Regions from separate parts of the Homo sapiens genome. Here region 1 is linked to region 2. Evidence: promoter capture Hi-C in 16 types of primary human blood cells and fetal thymus (Javierre and others, 2016). All regions are on one chromosome and are shown on one strand. The core of a region is centred on a gene start or on the middle of the fragment in contact, and the rest is flanking DNA. Distances in the headings are between cores, read along the strand shown. Region 1 overlaps ZDHHC8 (zDHHC palmitoyltransferase 8). Region 2 holds the start of KLHL22 (kelch like family member 22).

The links. The method cuts DNA at HindIII sites, captures the fragments that hold promoters and counts their contacts. A CHiCAGO score of 5 or more calls a contact.
Region 1: a fragment that was not itself captured here is called in contact with the fragment with the promoter of KLHL22 in region 2 in 6 of 17 cell types (M0 macrophages, erythroblasts, fetal thymus and 3 more); the score reaches 6.8 in M0 macrophages.

Annotation. Positions count from the first base shown.
Region 1 is chr22:20,138,099-20,141,728 of GRCh38, forward strand. It overlaps ZDHHC8 (zDHHC palmitoyltransferase 8), which reads left to right. Exons shown (of 11, transcript NM_013373.4): 2 at 1,096-1,217; 3 at 1,380-1,537; 4 at 1,622-1,794; 5 at 2,017-2,119; 6 at 2,519-2,610; 7 at 2,773-2,914; 8 at 3,119-3,239; 9 at 3,323-3,432. Among named protein-coding and RNA genes, the nearest start is that of ZDHHC8, 8.1 kb to the left of the region's middle. RefSeq lists an enhancer at 1-85. The HindIII fragment of the contact is 2,442 bases long and covers 429-2,870 here.
Region 2 is chr22:20,493,438-20,497,201 of GRCh38, forward strand. KLHL22 (kelch like family member 22) reads right to left here and starts at 2,358. Exons shown (of 7, transcript NM_032775.4): 1 at 2,323-2,358. LOC101928824 (a long non-coding RNA gene) reads left to right here and starts at 2,476. Exons shown (of 4, transcript XR_007068011.1): 1 at 2,476-3,250. RefSeq lists a silencer at 2,018-2,677 and an enhancer at 2,872-3,524. The HindIII fragment of the contact is 9,275 bases long and covers 1,325-3,764 here.

The DNA of each region.
Region 1 (3,630 bases), core at 400-2,899, 360 kb before region 2:
GGCGGGCGTGGGTGCAGCAGCGTGGCCACGTGCGCTGGAGTGGTAGGCAGCGCGTGGGCCCCATCCACTGCTAGTGGCCATAGAGGTCAGGGCTGCTGTGGGGGATCCCCACTAGCCCCCCGACTATGCAGAGGGCCTGGGTGCAGGGAGGGACGCAAACCCCTGTGTTCCTGTCCCTGCTGCTTGTCACAGCAGCTGTCTCAGGGTGCGCAGGGGAGAGACAAGGAGCCTGAGGCCAGAGGGGCTTCTTGGAAGCTGAGTGGGTGGATTTAGGAACCCGCTGCAGGCCGTGTGGCCCGAGGACCGGCAAGTCTCTTCAGAGGGGACTCGGGCCAGGCCCGTTAAGGGCTGAGGAAGGCGCCTTTCAGGAAGGTGTGTGAGGGCACACCTTATAGGGAAGCTGCAGAGGGCAGCCTGGAGTCCTGGAAAGCTTCCCGGAAGAGGGGGTGGCCTTGGAGCCAAGTGCTGATGGCTGGGAAGATGGGAAGTGGTGGGGGGTGTTGTGCATTCTAGAGTCCCTAAGTGTTCTACTTTGTCATCTGGGGAGGGAGGTGACAAACTAAAAAGAAGGGGCTGTCTGGATGGGGATGTGCCTGACTGGGAAGAGTAGGGGAGACATGCCCCATGCACTTACTGACCAAGGACTGGGGCTCCCCACACCCCAGAATCTGCCTGGTGAGAGGCCCCACTGGGCCAGGGACAGGCCTGGATGAGGCATCGTGGCGCATTTTCCATCTGGGGCTCCCACCTCCAGCCTGTGTACCGCCCCCGCCCCCTACCCCGCCCCAGTCATGGAGCCTAGGTCGCTGGAATGGGGTGACCTTAGGTCTGTGGGCCTCTCTGAGACGGCTGCCCTGAGAGGTTGCCGGGTCAGGGCACGGGTAGCCCACATGCTGTACTGATACGCACAGCCTCTGGCCGTTACTCGAAGGAGCGATGTGGCTGAGGTTTCTTGGCAGGGCTGTGGCAGCCTCCCCACTGCCTCTGAGCTCTGAGGGTGACCTTGCAGGCCCAGCCTGCCGCACCACATAGCTCTGCGCCTGCATCCGCTCTGCACCCCCAGACTCCACTCTCTGCCCCCACTGTCTACTGCAGGTGCCCGTGGTTGACACGAGCTGTGTCCCCAGCTGTTCCCGTCTACAATGGCATCATCTTCCTCTTTGTCCTGGCCAACTTCAGCATGGCCACTTTCATGGACCCTGGTGTTTTCCCCCGAGGTAGGGCCCTGTGCTGCGGCAGCTCCTCTCACTTTCACTAGAGTGTGAGTGGCTAACTTGAGACAGCCTTAGGGATTCCTGGTGGGTGGGCTGGACTTGGGGGAGGGATTCACCTGCCAGGAAAGTCAACTTCCTGCTCACTGCCTGGCTCCTGGTCTGTAGCGGATGAGGATGAGGACAAGGAGGACGACTTCCGGGCTCCGCTGTACAAGAACGTGGATGTGCGAGGTATCCAGGTCCGCATGAAGTGGTGTGCCACGTGCCACTTCTACCGCCCGCCGCGCTGCTCCCACTGCAGCGTCTGTGACAACTGTGTAGAGGTGACCGCCCTGCTGCCCCGCGCTCCCCCAGCCCTGTGCCACATCCCTGCCTGCCATGTGCCCTGATGCACTGCTCCCGCCCAGGACTTTGACCACCACTGCCCCTGGGTCAACAACTGCATCGGGCGTCGAAACTATCGCTACTTCTTCCTGTTCCTGCTGTCACTCAGTGCACACATGGTGGGCGTCGTGGCCTTCGGCCTGGTCTACGTGCTGAACCACGCTGAGGGGCTGGGAGCCGCGCACACCACCATCACGTATCCTTGGTTCCTGTGGGCCTCATTGCAGAGGCGATGTGGACCGGGGACACGTTCACCAGGGAGATTGAGCCTCAGAAGGCTTGGTTCCTGCCCAGGGATCCCCAGTGGGCAGGTGGCCGTCCCTAGGTTGGGAGGAGGTTTGTCCACAGGCACCTGCTCTGTGCTGCTGCGATGGGGTCTGCGGTGTCCTGGCCTGCACCGTTGGCCTTAACGGGCTAGCATGGCTGTCATGTGTGTGGCCGGCCTCTTCTTCATCCCTGTCATTGGCCTCACTGGCTTCCATGTGGTGCTGGTCACTCGGGGGCGCACCACCAACGAGCAGGTGCAGACCCCATGGGGGATGGGTGGCCCCAAAGGGCCGAGAGAGTTGGGGCTGCATGGGGACAGGGTGGGGGCTGGGGCACCCTTGCCTGAGGTAGCTTGTGCAGCTGTGTTGAGACGAGGCTCCAACTCTGAGACCCCCACGTGGGGCTACGCCTGCCCCGTCCCCTGCGCACATCCTGCCTGTGGACACTGTGGCCACCAGTGACCCAGAAATCCCACAGCTCCCTGCAAGTTCAGGCTGGGTAACCTATGTGAGGGGCAGCCCTGGGCTGATCCCACCTAAGCCACTTCCCGCAAGTATCAGCTTCTAAGGAACCCCAGCTCCCTTGCCCAGCCCCCTGCCCACCCTGGCCTGGACCTTGGGAGGCCAGGCTGGCTGAGGGTCCTGCATCCACAGGTGACTGGGAAGTTCCGCGGGGGTGTGAACCCTTTCACCCGAGGCTGCTGTGGGAATGTGGAGCACGTGCTGTGTAGCCCCCTGGCGCCCCGGTGAGGCCCGGCCTGGGCAGGGTGGAGGGGGGCCTCTGCTGGGTGTGGGGCGGGCAGCCTTAGACCCTCTTGGTCCGTTTGGCTCTTGCCAGGTATGGCCAGCCCTGCCCTTGTGTGTTTGTGGCAGGTGGGCTGGCTACTGACCCCTGTGCCCTGGTGCAGGTACGTGGTGGAGCCACCCCGGCTGCCGCTCGCGGTGAGTTTGAAGCCGCCTTTCCTTAGGCCTGAACTCCTGGACCGAGCTGCACCGCTCAAGGTCAAGCTTAGTGACAACGGGCTGAAGGCTGGCCTGGGCCGTAGCAAGGTGGGCGCCTGGGCTTAGGGATGGGCTGGCAGTCAGGCCCTTGGATGGGGAAACAGGCAGGTTGGTGGGGGCCTAGAAGAGGTGGATGGGGCAGACAGAGCCGTAGACAGATTCTTGGGAGGGGGCTAGGTCCCAGGCTGAATCCCTAGTGAAGCCCTGCCCCTCATCCAAGCCCCACACACCACTGACCCCGCTCCCTCCCAGTCCAAGGGCAGCCTGGACCGGCTGGATGAGAAGCCACTGGACTTGGGGCCACCACTGCCCCCCAAGATAGAGGCTGGCACGTTCAGCAGTGACCTGCAGACCCCGCGCCCAGGCAGTGCTGGTGAGGTTGGGGCAGCCACGACTAGGGAGGGATATGGGTTGACCCTCCTCTGACCTCAGTCTGACAGTGGTCTGCATCCCCAGAGAGTGCCCTGTCGGTGCAGAGGACCAGCCCCCCGACACCTGCCATGTACAAGTTTAGGCCGGCTTTCCCCACGGGTCCCAAGGTGCCCTTCTGTGGACCAGGCGAGCAGGTAAGGAGGCCTAGCCTGCCCCCTGGCAGGCCTCGTCCCCCAGGCCCGCCTCTAGGAGCTCGCCCCACAGCCTTCACCCCGTGAAGGCCCCACCTCCAGAGCCCCATCTCTCCAGCAGAGGCCACATCCCCTGAGGCCATGCCCCTCAGGGCTCTGCCTGGGTCACCAAGGGCCTTGTGTGACTGGTAGGACCCTGTC
Region 2 (3,764 bases), core at 1,108-3,607:
GAACAGATGTCATGGCACAGTGATCTGACAGAACATTAGGCAACAGTCAAAATGCGCAAAGTGGCCGGGCGCAGTGGCTCACGCCTGTAATCCCAACACTTCGGGAGGCTGAGGCGGATGAATCACGAGGTCAGGAGTTCAAGACCAGCCTGGCCAACATAGTGAAACCCCATCTCTACTAAAAATACAAAAAAATTAGCCGGGCATGGTGGTAGGTGCCTATAATCCCAGCTACTTGGGAGGCTGAGGCAGGAGAATCACGCCACTGCATTCCAGCCTGCATGACAGTGCGAGACTCCGTCTCAAAAACAAAAAAACAAACAAAAAAACAATGTGCAAAGTAGGCTGGGCACAGTGGCTCATGCCTGTAATCCCAGCACTTTGGGAGGCCAACGTGGGAGGATCACCTGAGGTCAGGAGTTCAAGACCAGCCTGGCCAACATGAGGAAGCCCCATCTCTACTAAAAATACAAAAATTAGTGGGGCGTGGTGGCGCATGCCTGTTATCCCAGCTACTGGGAAGGCTGAGGAAGGGGGAAGCTGAGGCAGGAGAATCGATTGAACCCAGGAGGTGGAGGTTGCAGTGAGCCAAGATTGTGCCATTGCACTCCAGCCTGGGCGACAGAGCCAGACTTTGCCCCCCCCCCAAAAAAAAAAGTGCAAAGTAGGCTGGGCATGGTGGCTCATGCCTGTAATCCCAGTGCCTTGGGAGGTCCAGGTAGGTGGAGTTCAAGACCACCTTGGGCAATATAGCGCGACCCTTTCTCTACAAAAAATTTAAAAATTAACTAGGCATGGTGGTGTACACCTGTAGTCCTGGCTATCTGGGGTGAGACAGCTTGGGGTTCACTGCAGTCTCAAGCTCCCAGGTTCAAGTGATCCTCCCACCTCAGCTTCCTCAGAAGCTGGAACAACAGGAGCTCACCACTGCGCCCGGCTAATTTTTCAAATTTTCTTTGTAGAGAAGAGGTTTCACTATATGGTGTAGGCTAGAGTGCAGTGGTAGGGTCTTGGCTCACTGCAGCCTTCATCTCCTGGGTTCAAGCGATTCTCCTACCTCAGCCTCCCGAGTAGCTGGGATTACAAGCACGTGTCACCACACCCAGCTAATTTTTGTATTTTTAGTAGAGACGGGGTTTCACCATGTTGGCCAGGCTAGTCTCTCCTGACCTCAGGTGATCTGCCAGCCTTGGCCTCCCAAAGTGCTGGGATTACAGGCATGAGCCACCGCGCCCGCCCCCAGTCTCATATCCCCAATTTTAGTCATCACAAGCCAAGTTCCCCGTTTTGTACTGTTCGAAGTTTCAGTGGGGAGAAGAAAGGAAGCTTAATGTGCCACATAGCTACAAACTGAAGGATACAAGATGAATTTTTATGAAGTGATGGATGGCAGAGTCAAAATCATTTCAGAGGAACTTTCAGTTCGGTACGATTTTACTGAGTAGATACCCTCAGCCTTCTGTAGGGCCCCCGAACGAGCAGTATCCCCTCAAAGAAACTCAATCCTTGGCAGCATGAAGCAAGGTCGGCCACAAAGGCAAAGGGGGCGGCTGCGGTAGAGGAGAGGGAGTGGGTGCTGATTCCCAGCGGGGCAGCCTTCCAAAGGGTGCGCTCTGGAAGAATCTCCCAGGGAGCCGTCTTGGAGGCACTCGGCCCCGCGGAGGGCCGGAGCGAGGGCGCCCAGTGAGGAGCCCAGGCGGAAGGTGGCGGTGCCCCGCTGCCCGCCCCAGATCCACTCGGCTCGGCCCGCACCGGATCTAAAATGGTCAGAACTGGCAGCCGACGCTTCGCGCTCTGGTGATTTTGCACTGACAGCGCGATCTCCGGCTCCTCTCAGGAAACCGGGAGAGCTGGCAAGGCTGGGCTCCTACGGCTGCAGTCCCCGGGCCCGATCGAGGGAACTGAGGCTCGTCAGGCCGGCCCCAAATCGCCCGCCTGTTGCAAGGCCGCCCGCTCCAGCGCGGAGGGTCGCGGCCAGGAAGGCCGCATTCGGACCTGCCGCAGGCAACAGGGCCCGCCCGGGTGCCAGGAGGCCGGCGCGCCAGCAGCCGCGCTGAGGAGGCCTCGCACCCTGGCCCCTGGCCGAGCGCCAGATCCCGGCCCCTACGCGCCCGCGCCCGGGGATCCCGCCGGCCGCGTCCCCGCCACGTCAGGCCGCGGGCTCTCCTCAGGTCGCCGCCCCCGAGCCTCCGGCCCGCGCCCGCCCCCGCGCCCCTCGGACTCCGCGCCGCTAGCTTGTCCCCGGCCCAGCGATGCCTGCTTGCCGCCCGACCCCCGCGTTCGCTGCCGCCCGGCCCGTTCGGCTCACGCCTCGCAGCTGACCTGGTGCCGCCGCCAGCCGAGGCCGCACTCGCAGCTGGAGGGAGGCGGGAGGCGGGAGGCGGGAGGCGCGAGGCGGGAGGCTGGGCGAGAGGAGCCGGCGGGGCGGGGGCCTGGGCCGTCACGTGGGTGCGCCGCGCAGGCGCCGGGCGGGCCAGACGTAGGCCCGGGGGTTCCCGGCCTGGCCGGGTAGCAGCGCGGGGGCGGCCCTGGGGCGGGGAGACAGGGGGCGGCTCCACTCCGGCGCTCTGCGGAGGACAGCAGCGATCGCCAAGGCTCAGTGAGTCCCCGCACTAGCGCGGCACCTGGCACTTGGCGGGGCCGAACCAACGAATGAGCGAATTTGCCGAGAGTCGCCCCGTCTGAATCCATTGACTCTTTCCTTGCCTCGGTCCTACCCTCATTCCTCGACTCACTTCCTCCTGCCCTTCCTCACTATCTCCCTCCCCGCTCATATCCTCCCTCTCCTTTCCTCATTCCCTTCTTCACTCTCTTCTCTCCTCTCTTACTCCCCCCCTCTCATTCCCTCCCTCCTTCACTCTCTCATTCCTTCCCTTCCTATCTTACCCACCATTCCCTTCCTCCCTCACTCATTCACTCCCTCCCTGTCTCCCCCTCTCATCCCCTCCCTCTCTCATTCCCTTTCCCTCCCTCCTTAACTCTCGTTCTCTCCTCCCTCTCTCATTCCTTCCCTCCCTGTCTCATTTCCCCCCTTCTTTCCCTCCCTCCCTCTCCTCTTCTCCCATTGCCTCCCTCCCTCTTTGATTCCCTTCTTTCCTCCTCTCCTCCACTTGTTCCCTTCGTCACGCGCTCATTCCCTCCCTCCCGCGGCCTGCTCCTTCCCCGCTCCCTCCGCGGTCGGTGCCGCTGACCGTAGCGCGCCCCCTGCGGGATATCGGGGAGAATCGCTTAACACCGCCAGAGTGAACAGGTGCTAGTTTGTGTGCCCGTTCCTTTACTGAGATTTTGCAGTAAATCTAATTCCCAGTCTTAAAGCCTGGTCCCAGAGGTCCGTGCGCGGGTCTTGGCATTCATTGTTCTCCACCTCACCTTCGAGCAGGTCCCATCCTCCGAGGCGTATCCGTAATGGCTGCGCCCAGAGCTTGGAGCCACAGAGCCTCCTGATGGGATAAGGTTGGAGTGTCCCACACTGTGGTTTTGAGAGGGACTGTGAAGGGTGGAGAGAGTGGTAGGGGGAGGATGTGGCTGGAGATGGCTCATGGTTAAAAAGAAAGGTGGGGCCGGGCTTGGTGGCTGGCGCCTGTAATCCCAACACTTTGGGAGGCCGAGACGGGCGGATCACGAGGTCAGGAGATGGAAACCATCCTGGCCAACATGGTGAAACCCCATCTCTACCAAAACACACACAAAAAAACTAGCCGGTCGTGGTGGCGCGCACCTGTAGTCCCAGCTACTCGGGAGCCTGAGGCAGGAGAATCGCTTGA